Linked DNA regions of Homo sapiens: all the other regions are linked to region 1. Evidence: promoter capture Hi-C in 16 types of primary human blood cells and fetal thymus (Javierre and others, 2016). All regions are on one chromosome and are shown on one strand. The core of a region is centred on a gene start or on the middle of the fragment in contact, and the rest is flanking DNA. Distances in the headings are between cores, read along the strand shown.

What was found. The method cuts DNA at HindIII sites, captures the fragments that hold promoters and counts their contacts. A CHiCAGO score of 5 or more calls a contact.
Region 2: a fragment that was not itself captured here is called in contact with the fragment with the promoter of KTN1-AS1 in region 1 in 1 of 17 cell types (fetal thymus); the score reaches 5.3 in fetal thymus.
Region 3: a contact is called between a fragment that was not itself captured here and the fragment with the promoter of KTN1-AS1 in region 1, in 1 of 17 cell types (fetal thymus). The highest score is 5.0, in fetal thymus.
Region 4: a contact is called between a fragment that was not itself captured here and the fragment with the promoter of KTN1-AS1 in region 1, in 3 of 17 cell types (non-activated CD4 T cells, total B cells and total CD8 T cells). The highest score is 6.1, in non-activated CD4 T cells.

The regions. Positions count from the first base shown.
Region 1 is chr14:55,577,756-55,583,483 of GRCh38, reverse strand. KTN1-AS1 (KTN1 antisense RNA 1) reads left to right here and starts at 3,392. Exons shown (of 3, transcript NR_027123.1): 1 at 3,392-3,548; 2 at 4,747-4,878. It overlaps KTN1 (kinectin 1), which reads right to left and starts at 3,277. Exons shown (of 44, transcript NM_001079521.2): 1 at 3,130-3,277. RefSeq lists silencers at 1,959-2,253, 2,433-3,072, 3,133-3,392 and enhancers at 3,833-3,922, 3,933-4,052. The HindIII fragment of the contact is 5,026 bases long and covers 187-5,212 here.
Region 2 is chr14:56,192,159-56,197,886 of GRCh38, reverse strand. The region is part of intron 2 of PELI2 (pellino E3 ubiquitin protein ligase family member 2); the gene reads right to left. Among named protein-coding and RNA genes, the nearest start is that of PELI2, 77 kb to the right of the region's middle. The HindIII fragment of the contact is 2,240 bases long and covers 969-3,208 here.
Region 3 is chr14:56,166,219-56,171,946 of GRCh38, reverse strand. All of the region lies in intron 1 of PELI2 (pellino E3 ubiquitin protein ligase family member 2), which reads right to left. Among named protein-coding and RNA genes, the nearest start is that of PELI2, 51 kb to the right of the region's middle. The HindIII fragment of the contact is 6,830 bases long and covers 1-5,728 here.
Region 4 is chr14:55,045,003-55,050,730 of GRCh38, reverse strand. It overlaps SOCS4 (suppressor of cytokine signaling 4), which reads right to left. Exons shown (of 3, transcript NM_199421.2): 3 at 1,242-5,728. Among named protein-coding and RNA genes, the nearest start is that of MAPK1IP1L, 3.8 kb to the left of the region's middle. The HindIII fragment of the contact is 222 bases long and covers 3,188-3,409 here.

The DNA of each region.
Region 1 (5,728 bases), core at 2,143-4,642:
AGAGTTCTTAATCTCCCTGTAGTAGCTAGGACGATTCGTAAAATACTAAATCATAACTTTTTTTAGGGTATGTCTTCTACATTTCCGAGGAATATTATATTTCCTATCAGAGTATCTACTAAAACTATTGTTAGAATTAAAAGTATATCTTGCCTATTTTCTTTTACATAAAACCAATTAAAAGCTTGTACCATTTTTTAAAAAAGAAAAATAGCCTAGTTTTCACTGCCACCTCTGTCAAAAACACATTTAAGCACAACAGCTCGGCACACAGTTGTAAACTGTCATTATTTCTCTTTCTCTAGACCTCAGATACAGAAGGTTAAATTAAACCCCTTAGTTCACAGCACATAAGGTTCTTCCCCTTAATGTTTAATTTTCTATTTATAGAGGAGGGAAAAAGGCTTATATTCTCATCTAGACCAATATTTTCCCAGTGATTTGAAAATAAATTACATTTTTTGATTGGGACAAAGTCATGTTCACAGGAACTGAAAGAGGAAGCAATGAAATGCAATTCTCTTTGAGCATGAGTGATCACCAATGTCACTTCTAGAGAAATAGTTACTTGCTTGTATCCTCTAAGTATACTCTGGATTTACCTTCAAAGTCACTAAAAACAGTACAGAGAACAAGCAGGTCATAAGGTGTATTCTCAAATATATGAACGATCTTGCAAAGCACGATTTTTCTCATTTCCTTATTACATATTAGGTCAGATTCCCAAGAGAACCAAAACCTTCCTAGAACCACTTAAGTTCATTAACAATTTAATATTTTAACAAAGTATTGGAGATCTTTCAGGTTAAAACTTCATTTGCTATAAAAATTATAGGCATACAATTAAAAACACATGTTCCATTCAAGTTAAGAAATTAACTTACACATAGGAAATGTATAAGACACATTCAACTTTTAAAAAAACAATTATGATTCAGTATTCTACGTGTCATCTTAACCATGACAGGCTGATTAAGAACTTTTAACCATAACTTAACATTCAAGTTAAGAACTTAAGAACAGTGACAATCTTAATATGGGTTCTTTAGAAGTCTCAAAAAGGTTTTCACGTCTTAGGCTCTTTTAAAAAGCCATATTGACTGATATTAAAAATATAATTATTAAAACGATCTCCCTACCAAAAGCAGATTAAAGCCTATAAACTAGAAGGGAGACTGAAGTGAGGCATTTTTAGGGACAAACACAACATCAAACAGAAGAGACTACTGGTATTAAAAGAATACAGAAAGATCTAAATTGGAAACAAAATCGTAAATGTCTCTTCATAATGCTGACGCTGAATCATTAAGAGTTAAATACTTGATATTCTTTATAATTTTCAAGTATTAAGAAAATTTTTCAATAGATCTTGTTATATTTTCAAATTCATTATCAGCCTCAAGTAAATCAAGTAGAACACCTTATTCTCTAAGCTCACTTGATAAGGTATTGTTATGTCTGATGAAGGCTACAAAATTAGAAGAGACATTTGAAACTCAATGTTGGGGTGGGAGGGAAACTCATGAACAGACCCAGCTATTTCAGGTTAGATCCTTAAACTAAAAAAAAAGGAAAAAGGAAAAAAAAAAAGAGCCTTTTTTATCAGGCAGCACATCAAATATGAAAGTCTACTGCAAGGCATGTCTACCCAAAATACTCAAGAGTAATTTAGTGTTATTCTTGGGATCATTATCCCAAGTCTCACCAGCTTGGGATCATTATCCCAAGTCTCACCAGCAATTGCTTCGGACCAAACTGGAGACACTGTTGCCATTAGCCTGCTAGGTAAGCTAAGGAAAACAAATGCAACCTAATTTAGCAAAAATTCTAACTTTAAGTCAACTCCTATACAATTCAGAACCTTTAGTTCACCGAAGATGCTTATCTTTAGCTGGGCTGGCCATGAGTGTCTACATTTCTCAAGGCTTTCCACAAAGTCATCACACACACACACACCTTAACAGTTAACTTCAACCGTAGCTCTTTACTCAAGGCTTTCCACAAAGTCATCACACACACACACTCACACACACACACACACCTTAACAGTTAACTTCAACCGTAGCTCTTTAAGCACTACTAACTTAAATAGCGGCTAAGGAATCCGTTTGCCAACACAGTTCTGAATTTAGATTCCTCCTTCCTCCCACAGGAAAGAAGGGCCAACACTGAACAGCTTACTTTCAACCTAACCTAGTCAAGGTGCAACTGGGGCCGGCTGGGACGCCGCTGCCCGCGTCCGGGGCTGCCCACATCTAGTGCACCCAGCGCCTTCACCGCCAGCATGCGGGGCTGCACATCCCACACCAGACGTATGGCTGAGAGCCAGACGACTTCTCTAGACTTCCCGCGTAGTTTTCCGGCGAGGTCCCCAAGGCCAAAAATCTCACTTTTGGAAACTGAAGGGGTCAGGCCGAATCGCTAGGACACACCCCTCGGGGACAGGAAGGGATAACTTCGCCGGTGTCGAGAGTGGTCCATGGATTTTTCCAAAGTCCCCCCTCATGCTGCTTTCCGTGCCCAACCGCCTCCCGCCCTGACCTGGGGACTCGCAAAGGGCAGCGGGAGGGGCGCCGGGGAAGGGGGCGAGCGCCCAGACCGCCGGAGGCAGCGGCGAGGACTGGAACTCCAGCATGGCGTAAGTGTGGCCCAGCTCCGGCCCGGGGACGCCGCCGGAGACGCGCTGCCTCCGTCCACCGGCCGAGGAGGCGGTAATCCGCCTTCCCTCCCGGGGGCCCTCAGGCTTGGCTAAAAATAGGTGCCTCGGTCACCCCAGGGCCCGCTCGGGTCGACCTCGCCTTCGGGAGAGTCGTCCTTGGGGAGGGTGGGGGGTGTCCCTCGGCCGCGCCCCGGGTGCCGCGACAGAGCCGGGGTCGGGCCCAGAGCGGCCCCGCGAGGCCGAGGAGGTCCCTCCGAGCCCGCCCCCTGCGGCGTCCCGGCCCCAACAAGAGCCCCGCGGCGGCAACCGGATGCCCGAGGCCTACCCAGCGGGCGGCGTCCGGGCCCCGCGGCCGCGCCCCCCCGCCCGGCGCGGCCCTCCCGCCTGCCCCAGGACCCCGCGGCCGGCGCCGCCTCCCCCCGCGCTCCCCGCCGCCGGCGCCCGTCCCGGTGCGGCCTGCTCTCCCTCACCCTGTGCGGCCGGGAAAGGAGACCGGGAAGACGCGGCGGCGCCGGCACTACAGCCCGGGCCGCCCGCTCCGAGGCGCCGCCGCCGCCGCCGCCGCCGCCGCAGTCGCTCAGGTGCCGTCGCGCCGCTCGGCAGGAAACGGGCGGCTTCGGGGCGGGGCGGGGCGGACCCGGCACGTCCTGGCGTCTGGGCCGGCGGCGCCGGGAGACCGGCCCCTTAAAGGGACAGCCGCCGGCCCGCCTCTGCCTCCGCGCGCCTGCCCACGCGCTCCGGTACTCGCTGCTCGCGGCTGGCCGGCTCGGGATTCCGGGCTTTCTTCCCGAGACCGCGTCCCCCAGCTGGGCCGAAGGTGGACGCTCAGGGGCTGGAGGCTCAGCGGAATCCCCTGCGTTCAGTAGCCCCGCTCTCCCCTGTCCCGAAGGTTGGTCTCGTCTCGCGCGGCCCTCCCTCCAGGGCACCACCTGGCTCCCCACGCCTTTTAACTTCAGCAAACGGCACTAGATTTACCCCCTGACTATCCCAGATTTCCCCCAGAAATTACTGGAAAACGACATCCCCCGTCCCTTTCTCCAGGGGATCTCTCTGAAATCTCCTTCGGGCAACGCTAGCTACAAACGGAGAAAGAAATTAGAAAGCGACCCAAATAATGGTCGGGCGCGGTGGTTCACGCCTGTAACCCCAGTACTTTGGGAGGCCAAGGCAGGCGGATCACCTGAGGTCAGGAGTTCGAGACCAGCCTGGCCAACATATAGTAAAACCCGTCTCTGCCAAAAAAAGTACAAAAAATTAGCTGGGCATAGTGGCGCACGCCTGTAGCCCCAGCTACTTGGGAAGCTGAGACAGGAGAATCGCAGGAATCTAGGAGGCGGAGGTTGCAGTGAGCCGAGATCTCGCCACTGCACTCCAGCCTGGGCGAGAGAGTAAGACTCTCCGTTTCTCTCAAAAAAAAAAAAAAAAAAAGGAAAGAAAAGAAAGCGACCCAAATGAGTTGTGTGCAAACATTATGAAAGTGTTGTGACTGCCAGCTGGTAGCCATTTATGAAGCCGGGGTAAAAATCTAGAAACTGCTGCGCGAGGAGGGATGGGCCCGGATCTCTCCTTATTCGTTTGCTCTTTGCTGAAAGGATGGCAGCGATCCTCCCCGTCCACTGGCAAGTGAGTTTCGTGTGGATTGTTTACCGATGATCAATCTCTCACAGGAGGCCAGGCACTGCCCCACTACATGTACAAAACACTCCAAGCTGTCCGCAAATGTTATGAAGGCTTAAAATAATCCTAACGATTCCAGACTGTGGATAGAGATAGAAAAAATTAGGACTCACCACCACCACCTCGCCCTACATCTGACAAAGTGGGAACAGAAGCAGTTAAGGAATGAACAGCAGAACCGTTTCTACACCAACAGAATTTCCTGTACATGGGCTGGTTAAAAGTATCCATACTTTTTATTCTAATCATTTCTAAGTTTTCTAGAGCACCTCCAAAATACAAATGAAAACTGCGCAGTGTATAGTGGCCTGAGATATTGAGAATTCTGCCAGTCTTCAGTCACCGTGTTCTCCACAGATGCATTGTCTTATTTTAACTCCAGAGGCGTCCTCTTTTTTCTTTCTCATTAGGATTACTCTGCCCCTCAGCGGTTCCAGTGCCCTCAAAGCAATCTGTCTCTGAAGTACTGGCTATCTTCTGAGCGTGTGCCAGAAGATCCAGCTTTGTTGAAAAGCGAAGCCGTTAGTCCCTTAATACAAAGGGTAAGTGTATCATTTATGTAATGGAGTTTAAGGGCTCTTGATTAGCTTACAAACAACCATGTTATTTCCTCAGGTTAGTACTAACGCAGGTTTTAGGTTAGAATTAAAAATTTATATCATTCATTTTCCTGACCAGTAAAACCGCAATGTCATTTACAGGCAATAATATTTCGGTGCACTTGTAAGTAAGACAATGAGTGGAGTTTAGGATTTTCTCAAAACATACTACTGCTTATACTAAAGGATGACTTTGTATCACCTATTTCGGCTTTTCTGGCGTTTGAACTTTGACTATAGAAAGGGAAGTGGTTGAATGCTTTATTTTTTATAAGCTTTCTATTTATTCACATCAAAACAAAAAGATTTACTAGAGGCCGGGCGCAGTGGCTGACACCTGTAATCCCAGCACTTTGGGAGGCCGAGCTGGGTGGATCACCTGAGGTCGGGAGTTCGAGACCACCATGGCCAACATGGTGAAACCCCAGCTCTACTAAAAATACAAAACTTAGCTGGGCATGGTGGCAGGTGCCTATAATCCCAGCTACTGGGGAGGCTGAGCAGGAGGATCGCTTGAACCCAGGAGGCAGAGGTTGCAGTGAGCCAAGATGGTGCCACTGCACTCCAGCCTGGGCAACAGAGCAAGACTCTGTCTTAAAAAAAAAAAAGATTCACTAGAAATGCTATGCTTCTCTAGTGTTATGCATAATAGGCAAGCCCTATTATGAATTAACACCAACCCTCTAGGTTTTAAAGTGTAGTATAATATAATTAGCTATAGTTAACACATATAATTAACCTACGATATAATTAACTTTGGCTGCTATTTACTACCCTCCAGTGTCACTGAAAC
Region 2 (5,728 bases), core at 839-3,338, 620 kb before region 1:
TCTGCATGTGTGTGTGTGTGCACAGGCAGGCCGGAGACCCCAGAAAGAACCAAGACTGCAGTTCAAGTCTGAAGGCCATCTGCTGATAATTCCCTCTTGCTTGGATTGGGTTAATCTTTTCGTTCTATGCAAGCTTTTACCTGATGTGCTTTACTCAAAGTCTAGAGATTTAAATGTTAATCTCATCCAAAAACACCTTCACAGAAACATTGAGAATAACACCTGACCACAAATCTAGGCACAATGGCCCAGCCAAGTTAACACATACAATTAACCATTACACTAGTCTAAGCCACTTCATTTCTGGTCTAAGCCAATGCAACAGGCTCTAACTGGTCTCTGTGCTTCCATCCTTTCCTTCCATATCAAAGCCAGAACACCCGCTTCATGCATAAATGTCTCCCCAAACACCCAACAGCTTCCTATTGCAACCAGATTAAAGCCAAGGCCCATGAACAAGACTTGACTGTACCCTCATCTCATCCCAAGCTCCAACTCCCCACTAACCAGCCCTCAAGCCTGCCTCAGAGTCTTAGAATATGCTGACAGTTACACTTCTGCCCCTCTCTGTTTGCAAGACTAAACTCTATGTATGCCTTCATAACTCATCAAAACTTAAATATGTGTCCCTGGCCCTCACAGTATTCTCCACTGTTTGTTTCCTTGACAGTGCTGAGCACCAATGAATATTATATATTTATTTGTTTGATTTCTTATTTATTGCCTGCCTCTGACCCTACAACCTCCATTTGTGCAGGGACCATGTTTGTCTTAACTCATCCCATGCAGAGCCCAGGGCCTGGCACACAGCAGATGCTCAATTAATATTAATTAAATAAACAAAAAATTCTAATGCAAGAAAAATCTAAACACCTAGAATAAAATACTTAAAGTATCTGAAAAAATATGTTACATAAACCTTGAGATAGATAAGCACTTCTTATGCAAAACAAGAAACTTATAAAGCTTAAGTGAGAAAATTCCAGATTTGATTATACCCAACTCAAGTATGAGATGAGACACCATGAACAAAGTTAAAAGATAAACAAAATATATGCAACACATATAACAGATTCTACAAATTAAAAAACAGAAGTCAAACAATACAATTCAAAAATAGGCAAGGAATTTAAATATCACGTAGTTAATAAATGTCAGGAAATTAACAGATTCTAATCTTAACACACCATATCGGCAAAAATTAAGACAAACGTTCCTAAAGTAAAAATATTTTTTAAAGATTATGATTTTAAAATGATCCTATCGGCCATTTTTCAAATGGGCAGTATAATACAATCACAGTGCAGAGGGCAAGACAGCTTTGGCAAGAGAAAAGAATGTACAAAAGCAAGAGGTTGCAGATTTTTTTCTTTCAGCCACATCTGTGATGGATCCACACTGAGTATGTCTGAAGCAGAGGATTACACATTTTCCAAAGCAAAGATTACCAACCTAGAAATAGTGATGTAATTACTGTCTCATCACCAGATATCAAATTATCAGAGACTAAAAGTTTTCTGTGGCTCAAATTGCTTAGTAAACACAGACTTAGAAGGGCCTTCTCCAGAAATAAATGCCAGACACACTAGTTTCAGGGTTCACAATTTCACCGAAAAACCCCTCAAAACAAAAACAAAACGAAAACATGCTTTGGAAAGAAACAGACATCGTTATTTTAAGGAGGGGTGGGGAGTTACTCCTAGGGAATCTCTTCTCTGTAGCCTTTAAATTCATTTGGTATTAATCCTATTTATACAATGTAACCTCCACAATCCTAGAAATTGTACTTAAAAATCACAGTCATAACATTTTAACCATTTCTGTACTTATTGTAGTCACCTGCTGAGTAAACACTTAATTGTACAGAGTCCCTCCTTCTCTACCCACGCCCAGTAATGATAAACTGACATTTTGCAGTTAAATAAAAGCCACATCCTGCCAGCTGGGAATACACTTGCAGAGGCCATGCTCTCCTGTCCGGAGCACTGTCACATGCTGCCTGAAACCACACCTGCCAATCACGGCTTGCGCACATGTGCAGCCTCTGAGACTGGGGCCCAAACTGCCAGCTGGGCAGATTAGGCTTTTTGACATCTGATTCACATTTAAACAACCAGAAGATCTCTGTAGAACCGCTCCCAAACTTAACAAACGGTTTAATATGGACTAACACAGCCAAGGTGGGAAAGTTTCTCCGGATGAGGGGTTTGCAGTGTTTGAACACAGAGAATGGCAGCATTTAGAGGAAAGGTATCCCCACCTGTTTCATTAGTGCCACTATTCGTAAGTGAAAAGATCTCCACTGCCTCTAAAGCCTTTAGCTAAATTGCTGAAAGGCCTTCCACACAGCAATTCTGTTTTACGGCCATTAAAAGGCCCAACTAGCTTCAGAACTGCCTCGGTGGACAGATGCAGTGGAAAGCTGCTTCAGCCTCAAACCAGCTGTGAGGGGAGGGGGTAGGACCACCCAGGGCTGCTCACAGGAAGGGGAAGCTCTGCTCTCTCCTGGCAGTTCCGGTGTTTTGTCTCTCCATGCCCACGTCCCTACTAGAAAATGAGAATGGCAAAATGGTGAGAAGCAGACATAAAGACACAATATGACAAGTAAACAGGGTAGAGACTGAGCCACAAGAGACTTCCAGAAGCATGCTTTTGAAGGGGGTTGGGGATCCCCTTTTAGAAGGATGGTTATAAGGAATACCAAAGAGATTCTCTTCGTCCTCTAGACTTATTTAGCTTGCATGCATCCTTCCACCTGCACAGATGCCTAAAAACATTTCACTAACAGCTGTAGAAACAAAACATGTGTCAAGGAAAAGCATTAAATTAATGAGCATCTAGTTTACAGTTTTAGACTGAATTCTCATCAATGGGAAGTGAATTATCCCACATTCATTAGGGTCATCATTACACACAGTGAATAATAGGATACTTTAATTTTGCACAGCTGGCTCTTGAATCCAAAGCATCAACACTCGGTCCTTATTTTCACTTACATAAAAGACAAGATCCTAAATGTACTAATCTTTTACAATTCTCCATTGACTGAATTTTGAGGCAGAGGAATGGGCACTGGTGGAAAGGAGGCTAGAAGGGTATGGGCGGGGCGGGGGGCATTCTGTGAAAGACTTCATGTGCCAGTCTCTGGACGTGGGGCTGCCTTATCCAGGGCTGCCTTATCCAGTTACCATGGAGAATTATTCAAGCTTTTCAGCGGGGTGAAGGGATGCCCCTGAGCAGACATGCTTCATGTGATGGAGAGAGGGTTCCACATTACCTTCAAAGTATATTTAGCACTTAAGTGTCACATCTAACAGGCATGAATATACTAAGGCCTGCAGTGAAGGGAACACTATCAGTGGCTCATCCATCAGTCCATTCACAAATGTCCACTGCAAATGTCCATGCTAGGGATGGCGACTGGTGAAGAAGCAGATTCTGCAGGATCTGGGCACTCACTGGGGCAGTGGGGCCTGGTATTAAGGAAAGAAAACCTTAAGCGTGATGCAGCTTTCTCACTTAGATTGGACAGGGTAGGTAGTGAAGAGACCACAGCCAAAGACAGGAAAGACAGAGGAGATTCAGAGGGCAACAGCAGTGCAGGGCCGGATGCTGACGACAGGAACAGGGGCACCTGAGCCTGCAGGGAGAGAGGCAGACACATGCCAGGAAACTTGCTGCCCGAGTGGGAAGTAAACTGTGTATTCATAGTCAGGGCCCCAGCTTCCAGGTAATAAAAGCATCTGACACTCAGCTGCATTTTTATCAGTGCTTCCTACGACGTACAAGTCCATAAAGTTCAGAAACAATTACTAGATTTAAAAAAAGAACAACGTTGTAAAAGACTTGTATCAACTTCTTAAGCCAAATTAAGACCCCCCAACAATGAAAAAATTAACAAGAGCTCAAGGCTCAAGCTAGCTAAGCAATCCTAGAAAGGTCCTGTAACTCTAGGTCTCAGTTTTCACATTGGGAAAAGTGAACAGGAGGAATCAGAATCTTCCTAACATTCTAGGAAAATGGCATCATAACTGGGGCAAATTATATACTCCTTTATTTTGGCAAAAAAGGAGGCTGACTTCCCTTTAAAAATCTCACATTAACTTAAAACATTTTTTCTACATTAAAAATTCCAATTCTTTATCAGAAGCGTGTTTTAAAAGTCAGAAACTTGATAAAATTTTAAAATATTGGTCATTAACATATTTGAGATTAACTCATATGGATTTTTTAAACCTATAAACTGGTCAATGTAATTCAGTTGCATGTATCACTAGTGGAGGTATTTGGCTGATTTAAATTATTTCAAGTCTATTTTGGTATGTATGACTAAGTATTTGCTTGCAGCTTCTTCTCTTTTTCCTTTCCCATTGTCAGGTTTTAGGAAACAATATTTCCCTTCTGTCCAATCTCTGCTATTCCTTCTGTAGGCCCTTCCCTCCCCAACTTCCCTGCATTTTTTTTATTCTTTGAAATTAGCAATCATGGCCACAATCAGGGTTTTAGCAAAATAAATTCTTGTCAAATCAGATAATGGGTTAAATTCAAGGAGGAGGTAGCTTCAACTGATCGAGGTAATAGAGAAAATCAGCATTTCTTCCAGCCCATACTCCCATCTGGGGGCATCTCACTACCCTCTGTCTTGGGCTGGGGACAGACGGTCTTGAAATGTGCCTCCAACTCTGGGAAGACAGAGGCTCAGAGGACTGAGACCAGCCTTTCTTAATCCAGAACAAAGATGGATTAACCCCATATTGAAAGTCAATTTGTAAGTCATCTCCCTCTATTTCCACAAAGCCTGATTTAAAGCAATGGTTTCTGCTAAGCAGCACAGAGTTACTGAAGGCAAAGGAACTTGTCGGAAGAGTCAGATATGCATTCACTTTGCCACACTGCCTGCCAGAGGATACAGCAATGCAGCTTTTTAAAATGAAGAATAATTTGTTAAGAAATTTTCTCACTTATTATTACCCCTTAGGTCTCCATTCTGTGACATGGTGAAAAATAAGAAGAAAAGATGTACTATAATACCCAATGTTCTTACAAATAAAAACAGTAATATTGGTTAACATTTGTTGAGCATTTACAACACACCAGGTGCCATTCTTAAAGATTTACATGTATTAACTCATTCATTCTAATCTATGAGTTGAGTAACATTATAGTCCCCAACGTGAGCGATGAGAAAACTGCGGGTCAGAGTGGTTGTCACTTGGCCAAAGAAGAGTTAGAATTTCAATCCAAGGAATTTGACTTCAGAGCCTGTACTATTAACCAGATTCCATACTAATTAGAGCTTAATAGCCTAAATCAGTAGCCCTCCAGGGGACATCCAGTAACATCTGAAGACATCTTTTGGTAATCATACGAGGGCACAGGAGATGGTACTGGTGTCGAGTGGGTAAAGGCCATAGATGCTGCTAAACATCCTAAAAGGCACAGCACGGGCCCCACAACAAAGATTATCTGGCCCAAACTGCCAATGGTGCTGAGGTTGAGAAACTCTCAACCTTTAATTAGAAATAATATTCCTAAACCTTTTCATGTTTCCCTCCTTTAACCCAGTTTAACACGACTCGACTTTAGAAAATGATGAACAGGGAATGTACACTAGAAAGGTATCAGTGTAACAAAAGACAAAATGCAAGAAATTTCAGTAAATTGGTGCTAAAAACTTTATTCCATTTTTCAAAAACAACAGTAACTTCTCATTAATCAAAAATAAAAA
Region 3 (5,728 bases), core at 1,370-3,869, 590 kb before region 1:
CCTCTCGAGTTCAAGTGATCCTCATGCCTCAGCCTCCCGAGTAACAGGGACGACAGGTGCACACCACCATGCCCAGCTATTTTGGGTATTTTTAGCAGAGACAGGGTTTCGCCATATTGGCCAGGCTGGTTTCGAACTCCTGACCTCAAGTGATCCGCCCACCTCAGCCTCCCAAAGTGCTGGGATTACAGGCATGAGCCACTGTGCCCAGCTGGTCCCCAATCTATTTTAAGTGGAACACTGTCACCTCCTCCTGAAAACTATCACCAAATCTTCCCCTGCCTATTCACACCCCCCATCTGGCCCATCTGCCTCCTAGGGAATGTGAGTTCTAAAAAAGTGAGGCCTTCTGTATCTCTGGCACCTGGCACAGTGTAACAGGGACACACGGTAGGCAATGAAAACCTACAAGCTGGCTGGCTGATGAGAGGACCATTATCTTAGTATGTTTTGTGCTGCTATAACAGAATACCTGAGACTCAGTAATTTATAAAGAACAGAGATTTCTTTCTTACAGTTCTAAAGACTGGGACGTCCAAGGTCAGAGAGCCTGCATCTGGAGAGGCCTGCTTGGCCTCCCTAGATGTTTCATCCCATGGTGGAAGGGTAAGAGAGCATGTGTACCAGAGAGAGCAAGAAATTGAACTCATCCTTTTATCAGGAACCCATTCCTGATATAACACCATTAATCATTTACAAGGGTGGAGCCGTCATGACCTAATCACCTCTTATAGGTCCCGCCTCTCAACACTGTTGCATTGGGGATTAAGTTTCCAACACATGAACTTTGAGGGGCACATTCAAACCATAGCAACCATCTTTTGTATAGTAGAATAGAGCCCAGTCATAAAGACAAAATTCTGCTTACAAAGGCAAAAAGTTACTGTCCCATGAAAGAAGGTCAGAACGTTCCCTGGGCTGGCACGCTTTTCAGCCAGTAAGTTTGTAGAAATAAAATGTCCGAGTGCTGCTGCCACACCTGTTTCAGCTGCTGCAACAGGGGTGTTTCAATTCGAGCCCATAAGAGCCTTTCAGGCTTAACTTTCTTTTTTATTCTGGAGACTTAAAAACAGTTATTTAATAAATGTGTGATGAAAATTTAACTCTTCATATATGCAGAGCAAACAGTTGGTCTTTACAGTAAGGGTATTTGGGAGCTGCAAAGAATAATGAAAATGCTGTGTAAGAAACTTAACCAAGTAATAAAGGGTTTTTCTGTTTTATAGTTTAGAGTTCATATATTAATTCACATATTAATGGGAATTAATAACATTTGCTGTACACTTACTATGTGCCAAGAAACCCTGTGAAGGAGACATTATTACTCCTAGTGGACAGATAAAAGGCTCAGAATGGCTGATCACACACGAACTTACACAGTTAGGAAATGTCAGGCAGAACCTAAAGCTACATCAGTTCTGTCTGACTCCAAATTTCATACTCTTTCCAGTAGACAACACTGACAGTTTTTAAATTCAAGACATTTTTTGGCATACAGTGCAAAGATGGAGTCTTAAAAAGATGTCTGCCACCTAAAAATGTATTTGTCAATAAGAATTTTCTAAGGGAAACCAGAGCAAGAAGGGGGATGCTAGGTGCTCCCAGTCACATTTTGGAGACGTCACGGTTTATCTTAACTAGCCTGAACTCTTACAGCGACATCCACATGGAATGGAAGCGATGTGGGCTCCAGAAGTGGAGGTTGCATCAGCATCACAGGATCACATTCCAGAGGTGGTCAGCTCTTCATTACAGGCTGAAGACTCCGCCTTCCTTCCAAAGCAACTGCTCTGTCACTTGCACCAACAAATCACAAGCAACTACTATGATCAAAGTAGACTGTACACTGCAGATGAACAGGACGTGACACTAGAGACAGACAGACTCAAAGGCAGGGCACACAGTCTCTGAGAAAACCCTGCAATCTGGCACCAGTCTTGAGGTAGCTCACCCTAACTCACTGTATAAATGCACTATTCCAACCGCGTTTAAGGAAATGCCCATATGCCAATAAGCGCCTAACATTGGTTTTATGAAATTATAGTCCCAACCCTCTTATTATTTAACCTATCATATATGCATGGACTTCCCCTGACCCAATGGACTATAAAGCCCAGAAACGCAACAACGTTTATTTCTCTTTGCTTAAGAAATGCTGCATATAGGAGGAGGCGGAGCAATATGGCAGAATTAAAGGCTCCACCCATTGTCCCACCTCACAAGGACACCAAGTTAACAACTATCTACACAGAAAAAACACCTTCATGAGAACCAAAAATCAAGTAAGCACTGATAATACCTGGTTTTAACTTCATTATCACTGAAAGAGGCTCTAGAAGAGACAGAAGAAACAGTCCTGAATCACTGACACCATCCCTTCCACACCCCACGCAGCAGCAACAAGCCTAGTGCTAAGAGCTTCTCTGGGAGCTGAGGAGGGAGAGCACAGTAATGGTGAGGCATTGAACTAAGTGCTGTTCTGTTAGAGCAAAAGGAACACCAGACCAACTCAGCTGACGCCCAACCACGGAGGGAGCATTTAAACCAGCCCTGGCCAATCGCCTATCCAGTGGTCTGAACTTGAGTCCCCGCAAACCTCACCACCAAGGGATACAGTGCTCTGTGTCTCCATGTAAACTTGGAGGGCAGTCGAGGCCAGAAGGACTGCATCTCTTAGGTGAGTCCTAGTGATGAGCTAGGCCCAGAGACCGTGGGCTTGGCGGCAGGGAGAGGAGGGACACATGACATACTTAGACACCAGCTGGAACAGCCCAGGGAGTGTTGGCATCACCCCTCCCCTAACCTCAGGCTGCACAGCTTGTGGCTCCAAAAGAGACCCTTTCCTTCTGTCCAACTGAAGAGAGGAGACGGTAGAGTGGGGAGGACTTTGTCTTGCATCTTGGATAACAGCTGAGCCGCAGCAGGATAGGGCACCAGTCAGAGTCATGAGGTCCCCATTCCAGGCCCTAACTCCCAGATGACATTTCTAGATACAACCTGGGCAAGAAGGGAACCCACTGCCTTGAAGGGAAGGACCCAGTCCTGCCAGAATTCATCACCTGTTAACTGAAGAGCCCTTGAACCCTGAATAACCAGCAGTGATACCCAGGTACTACATCAAGGGCCTTGGTGGCTTCTGGTGAGACTTGCTGGCTTCTGTTGAGACTCAGCACATTCCCAGCTGTGGTAGCTATGGGGCAAAACTCCTTCTGCTTGACAAAGGCAGAGGGAAAAGCAAAGGGCACTTTGTCTTGCACCTTACGTACCAGCACGGCCACAGGGGGGTAGAGCACCAAGCAGAATCTTGGGGTCCCTGATTCTAGGACTTGACTCTTGGATGGCATTTCTGGTCCTTCCCTGGACCAAAGGGGACCCCACTGCCCTGAGGGTGAGTCCCAGGCCAGGCAGCATTCACAACAAGCTGACTTAAGAGACTCTAGGCCGTAAGGGAACATTGGCAGTAGTCTGGCAGTACTCCTCATGGCCTAGGGTGGCAGTGGCTAAGGGGTAAGGCTTCTCTGCCTTTGGAAATGGAAGGCAAGAACAGGAAGAACTGCACCTTCTAGTTTGAGGGCCAACTCAGCCACAATAAAATAGAACACCAGGTAGACTTCTAAGGTTTTTGACTCTAGTCCCTGACATCAGGGCAGCACTTTTGGACCCACCCAGGGTCTGGGGGGGGGCACGCTGCTCAGAAGGGAAGGACACAGCCTGGCTGGTTTTGCCACCTGCTGATTACAGAGCCCCAGAGCCTTGAGTGAACATAGGCAGTAGCCAGGGAATAGTTACAGCAGGCCTTGGGCAAGACCCAATGCTGTGCTGGCTCCAGGTCTGATCCAGTGCAGTCACAGTGGTGCTGGCCACAGGGGTGCTTGTGTCACTCCACCCCCAGCGTTAGGTGGCTCAGAAGAGAAAGAGACTCTGTATGGCTGGGAGAAAGTAAGAGAAGAGAAAAAGAGTCTCTGCCTGGCAATCCAGAGAATTCTCCTGGATTTTGTGCAACACCATCAAGGCAGTTTCTCTCTGAGTCTCCAAGAACCACAGTGTTACTGGGCCTGAAGTGCCCCCTAAAGCCGATATAGCTTAGATCACAACACCTAAGTCCTTTCAAATATCCAGCAAGCCATCCCAAAAAGGAGGGCTACAAATAAGCCCAGAAAGTGAAGACTACAGTAAGTACCTAATTTTTGAATGCCCAGACACTGAAGAACATCTACTAGCATCAACACGATCCAGGAAAACATGACCTCACCAAATGAACTAAATAAGGCACCAGGGACCAAACATAGAGAAACAAATATATGTGACCTTTCACACAGAGAATGCAAAATAGCTGTTTATGAGGAAACTCGAAGAAATTCAAGATAACACAGAGAAGGAATTCAGAATTCTACCAGATAAATTTAACAAACAGACTGAAATAATTAAAAATCTAGCAGAAATTCTGGAGCTGAAAAAGTGCAATTGGTGTACTGAAGAATGCATCAGAGTCCTTTAATAGCAGTGTGGATCAAGCTGAAGAATTTGTTAGCCTGAAGACAGGATATTTGAAAATATACAGAGGAGACAAAAGAAAGAAGAATAAAAAACAAAAAAAGCATGCCTACAAGATCTTGGAAATAGCCTCAAAGGGGCAAATCTAAGAATTATTGGTCTTAAAGAGAAGGTACAGAAAGAGATAGGAATAGAAAGTTTATTCAAAGGGATAATAACAGAGTACTCCCCAAATCTAAAGAAAGATAGCAATATCCAACTACAAGAAGATTATAGAACACTAAGCAGATTTAATCCAAAGAAGAATACCTCAAGGTATTTAATAATCAAACTCCCAAAGGTCAAGAACAAAGAAAGGATCCTAGGCCAGGCGCGGTGGCTCACGCCTGTAATCCCAGCATTTTGGGAGGCTGAGGCGGGCGGATCATGAGGTCAGGAGATCAAGACCATCCTGGCTAACATGGTGAAATGCTGTCTCTACTAAAAAACACACAAAAAATAGTCAGGCGTGGTGGCAGGCGCCTGTAGTCCTAGCTACTCAGGAGGCTGAGGCAGGGGAATGGCGTGAACCCAGGAGATGGAGCTTGCAGTGCGCTGAGATCGTGCCACTGCACTCCATCCTGGGAGACAGAGCGAGACTCCGTCTCAAGAAATAAAAAAAAAGAAAGAAAAAAAAACCAATCAACAAACAAATCACATACAATGGAACTCCAATATGTCTGGCAGCAGACTTTTCAGTGGAAACCTCAGAGGCCAGAGAAGAGTAGCATGACATAAAGTGCTGAAGGAAAAAAACTTTACCCTAGAATAGTATATTTAGAAAAAAAATCCTTCAAAGATGAAGAAGAAATAAAGACTTTCCCAGACAAACAAAAGCTGAGAAATTTCATCAATACCAGACCCCTCCTACAAGAAATGCTAAATGGAGTACTTCAATCAGAAAGAAAAGGACATTAATGAGCAATAGATAATCACCTGAAGGTACAAAATTCACAACTAACAGTAAGTACACAGAAAAACACAGAATATTATTAACACTAACTATGGTGTGTAAACTACTCTTATCCTAAGTAGAAAGATGAACCAATCAAAAATATACCTATATCAACATTTCAAGACATAGTCAGTACAATAAGACATAAACAGAACAACAAAAAGTTAAAAAGCAGGTGGAGGGGTGGCAAAGTTAAGGCATAGCATTTTTCTTAGTTTTCTTTTTGTTTGTTTATGCAAA
Region 4 (5,728 bases), core at 2,049-4,548, 530 kb after region 1:
TTTTGAGACGGAGTCTTGCTCTGTCGCCAGGCTGGAGTGCAGTGGCGCGGTGCGATCTCGGCTCACTGCAACCTCCGCCTCCCGGGTTCAAGCGATTCTCCTGCCTCAGCCTCCCAAGTAGCCGGAACTACAGGCGCGCGCTACCTTGCCCAGCTAATTTTTGTATTTAGAGACGAGGTTTCACCACGTTGGCCAGGATGGTCTCGATCTCTTGATCTTGTGATCCGCCCTCCTCGGCAAAGTGCTGGGATTACAGGCGTGAGCCACTGTGCCCGGCCAATATACATTTTTTAAGATATAAAAATATCCTAAAAGTATGTGGTACACTTGCATCTTGCTTTGTGTAAGGCATTAGTGAGTGAGTGGGTGGCCATTTAACCATGAACTTGTTTAAAGGAAGACATCCCTGGATGTTTTCCACAGCACACACAATTCTCACACTGAAAAAGGGGCAACAGAGGAACTTCAAATACCTAAGCCGAGAGTCTTATTTTTGGGTAAGGGCACACAGGCCTATGGAAAATTACACGACTGGTGTGGACCTAGCCTGTTCTCACTGGTGACAGTGAATCAGCAGTGCCTTGAGCCATGCTGAAACCTGAAGCAACAAGAAATCAGTAATCTGGTCAGGTTTGATTTGAAATTTGGTATCTTGCTCATCATAGGCTTTTTTGCATCAATTCAGATATTACAATATTGTACCAAAACATTGTCTTCCTTAGTCGTATAGTCAAATATTTGTCCCTAAGTGCCTCACCATACCCTAGTCCTGGCGCTGTGTACCAGTAATGGATAGCCTCCAACTTTTCCTTGCCTGCAATCAGCCAGTAGCTGAGCACGTTGGAGGGGTCTAGATCTAGGCCATTCCTGTCCCTGTGGGCTTCTCTACAGGCAACCTTTGCTTGGGAACCAAGTCCTCATCTAGCAGTCTCAAGATGCACTGAAGTCCGAAGCTCCCCTACCCAATCCTTCCTTCTAGGTGTCAGACTTTCTGTGTGGTATGAAGAATTCCCCACCTTCTGCTCCCTTCTCTATCTTTCTAGGTGTTTCACTCCAAATAAATCTCTTGCACCTCTAATCACATTTTGGCACCTGCTTCTGGAAGTCCCAAACACAAAAAAACTAAAAGGAGTGTATTATAAATTAGAAAATATGTAAGAATATGGGTTTCTCTATCTTTTTCAGATTCTAAGTTGAATGTGTGAAGTAAAGACTATGTTTTTAAAATAAAACACAAAGCCTTTGGATTTTACATAGGAAGTTTTAATTAAGTAGAAATGAAAATTTATCCAGATCAATTTATTTGAACTTACATCCAAGAAGAAACATTCAACTTAAGGATTAGAAATAAAAGTGGCAATTGTCTACTTCTTTTGTGGTAAGGAATAGATCATACAAGCCTGACTGATGAGAGTAATAGCTTTGTGAAAACTGTATATTCGAGTACATGTGAACTCATACTTGGCTTATACAGAATTTATCCAATTCTAGCAAAGTCAGCATAATTTAAATAAACCTCCTTGAGTTTTACACCATGGCTCTCAAGTCTGAAAGCTTAGATTTGATTATAACCATGGCAAAAGTGATTATCTTTATTTTCTGAAAACGTAATCAACTTTTAAAATAAGTTAAGCAAACATCAGTTTTACACAGACCATATGAAGGGTAGGAGGAAACTGCAATTGTTCCTCTAATTGCAGAGCCTAAACCATAAATTCAAATTGTACTGCTATCTCTACTGTTAAAACAAGTCAAGAAAGTCTTTTACAGTCTAAGAGAAGTGAATGTAATTATGCAGCATCCACTACAAAGATATTTTGAAAACCTATCATCATGTTAGTACTCAATGGCTGTACAGCAATTATTTTAAAGTACGCTCCCAGGGTCACCTCTTGCTGAAGAATTAACTCCAGGAAGTCGAGTTACAAGTATCACCTACATTTTATAGGAAATAAAGGCAAAGATTTAGGACTGAGTCATCTGTTCAAAATTAGAAAGTAAATAAAAAAATAGACTTTGGTTTTATTTGAAAATCCCTTTCTATTGGGTTATATCCATTAATCTACATTTCAACTTCCAAGCCAATCTATTTTAAAAAGTTACCTCCATTTTGTGTCCAATATCTTACTGTATTAGAATAGTACAGGTAGACTCTTGCACTGCTCATTTCTAGTAGGCCATTAATAAAGAAAAGAAAAACCTTTGTGCTTTCTGTTCTTTCCTTAAATTACAAATGTAAAACTGACTTTTTTCCCCCAAAGTAGAAACAGTAGTTTGCTTGACGAAAAATCTTTTATTCACTTGGGCATTACATTACCTAACATTACACAGGCTATTTTGCTTTTAAACATTGTTTTCCTTGTGTTGTCTCCAGGAATCTCTTATAATTTTGTCTATTTTCCTGTGAAATTTGCTTTACCAAAATGAATGCGTAAGCTGTTTATTGGATTCTGACAATAGCTAAAAGCGACAAGAAATATTTTAATGAAAAGTAAGCGTGAGTTAGATCTTGGCCGGGCACAGTGGCTCATGCCTGTAATCCCAGCACTTTGGGAGGCTGAGGCGGGTGGTCACCTGAGGTCAGGAGTTCGAGACCAGCCTGGCCAATGTAGTGAAACACCATCGCTACTAAAAATACAAAAATTAGCTGGGCGTGGTGGCACACGCCTGTCATCTCAGCTACTTGGGAGCTGAGGTAGGAGAATTGCTGGAACCTGGAAGGCAGAGGTTGCAGTGAACCGAGATTGCGCCATTGCACTCCAGCCTGGGCTGACAACAGCGAGACTCTGTCTCAAAAAAAAAGAGATCTCAAGGTTTTTGTTTCATAGGAAGGAAGCTCTCTATTGCGTGGATCTATAAAATGATCCAAACTTCAGAGACAGGAAGCTGATAACTGGATTTATCTTCTTAATGGCTTTGGCTCATGAATAAATGATAATGGTTTATGTGTTTTTCTTATAAAAAGAAATGGAATTTGTATACCGATAGGAGTCCTACTTGCCACATTTGTTCTACTTATTAAGGGATTTCTAATTACTGAGACATTCTTTATATTATTTATAATAAGAAGTCAAAACTTTAACTGAAAGCCATTCTTTGACCACAGTTGGCCATTAGCTGAAATTCAGGAAATAGCACAGGTTTGATCACCAAATCAATAAATCTAGCCACAGGCTGACTAAAAGCTTCCTTTAATCTTCTTCCTATTAGGTCTTCCTTTAAATTAAACCATTCCCTTCATGAATTATTTAAGTGAATGGCATGGTTATAGAAAGATCACATATAACTCTATACAAAAATGCTAAAGGAACCTTAAAAAGTCCATTCAGCATACTTCAGGAATTATACTATGAATCAAGATGCTGTAGGCTTAGAAAAAAATGGGAGTGGGAGTATGTCCTGTAAAGCTTCAGAGAAAAATAGAAAAGTCAAGTTTATTTCCTGATTAGCCCAGGATGATTCCCAAAGCGCAGTTAAGTGTCTGGTCCAGACTAGCTATTAGCGATTAAGTAGTTTCTTTTCACTGTCAAGGCTTTTCCCTGAGGTAATGCCTAAATTCCTAATTTTAATATTTGATCTTATTTCTCTTAGCTCCATCCTCTCTCACCAATAAGCTCTCCACATTTCCACCATGCTAAATGCTTTCTCAACTCTGGAATTTACACTGTTCAAATCTTCCCTTTGTTCAACAGTTATAAAATTTTAGACAAATTTATACATTCCCACATTGTTCCTCTCAAAATTTACTCATTTATATAGTGCAATCAATATATTGTTTACATTTTATATAGGTTAGTTTCTGAATACTGTATGTTCTTCCAAATGTATCCTTACAAAGACACAGAGGAAGGGGGTAACCTTTCTGAATTCCAATTCCTTAATGTTTTAAAAAAAATTATTACTCTTTTCTTTTCCCTTAAACAATTCCCTTCTCAAGTCTTTATGTATCTACTTTCCAAACTTCTTTTCACTGTAGCAAATACCAAAGGAAAAATAAAAATCATTTCAGAGTCAATGAATCTCCTCCCTGCTCTCATTTATTAGATCAACTACTTCAAGGCTACATATGTGGCAGTACTTTTTAAGTGTTAACAGCTGTTAATACCTTGAAGTTGAAAAAATAAAAAAGCCAGAGAAAACATATCACAAGCAATCAGTTTGAATTATATGAAAAGGTACTTAGATCTTGACTTTCATATAAATACTAATTTTAACACTATAAAAGACAACATAACTATATATCATTTTTCTTTATAAAACTACCCCTTAACAGAATATTTGTAAGCTAGTCATCCCTTAGGTTTTTCTGTACTGATAAAAAGTTATTTTTAAAAGAAAAATATTTAAAATAATTGTTTCACAGAAACAGAAAATCTTATCAAATTCTGATAAAAAACTATAATCATGGGTACTCTTACCACACTATTTTCTTTCACCAAAGATGGATATTTAGGAAGTGGTATATTGGTTAATAAGATAAGCTTCTCAGTGATCTACAAAAGCGCCACAATAAAGATGAGGTAGTATGAGACTTTTCTAACCTTGTAAAAGGTAAATATCGTCTTTAGAAGAGATATTTATCCTGACATTGGTGTTATGATATCCGATATCCTGAGCCTCATCACTGCTAAGAGGTGCCATTTTTGTAGCTACATCTCATTGAGACTAAGACAATCTTGAGATCACTGAGGAAAAAAAAAATGCTAAAAGATAACGGTAATAGAGATTTTCCTTAATTTTGTAATAATTACTAAAAAATTATTTTAAAGCTATTATGGAAAAATGCCATTTTCATGTTAACAGAACTGCAAGATAGGGAAATGCTACTCACATAAAAGCAACAATAATGAAGAAATATTTGTTCTAACTTGGAAGTTTATGAGTCAAATTTCTTTCAATCTAGGTAGAAGCAGTTTCCTAATATAGCTAAACTAGCATCAAGAAATCAGTTACGATATTAAAAATGTCAATGTGTACAAAGGGTTAGACAGCTCACCAGAAGAAAATTGTCTATCTACATTTATTATTCATTGATTCCTTAAAAAAAGAAGATAGGATACCACTCCATTTATTTTTACTAGTTACTTTGGGCTAAAGATGTTTCTAAAAACGTTGCCCTGTTTCTGGGATAGTAAATTTAAAATATCACCCCTTTTGTCCAGTACTGTTCTGTATGGTGTAAGTCATGTAGCTGTCAAAAGGCTTTCTTTTTTTGAAGCCACATTACAGACTAAGTTAATTCTGAAGATAGGGATAATTATTTGGATCTTGTAGATCAAAAACAGTATTAAGCTTCCTGAATACTGAGCTCCATGTTTATTTCTGGAATCTTTATTCAAATTCAACTTAAAATAATGAAAAACTACTTAGGTACTCTTTGGTTACCAGTGGAAATTTGTGGCTGCTAATACATTGTGGAATTTCCCCAAAGTAACAGCTCAGAGTTTCTATAAAAGGGCTAAGTAGAAGCAACAGTTCATAAGCTAATACAGAAAAACCCCACAATTACTTTAGCACTTTAGTAACTACTAGCTACTAATAGTGTTATCATTATTTTCAAAGCTTCCAATGAGAAAGGAACAAGATTTATGTTTTGAAGATGGTTTAGCTCTTGCAGGTTGAGAGAAAGACCTATTCAGGAATGACAAATGATCCGGCCACATTGTAGAAGAGTAAGTGCACCTCCAGAATGATATGTTTCCATTTGATTCTCATTGACCAGATTAAT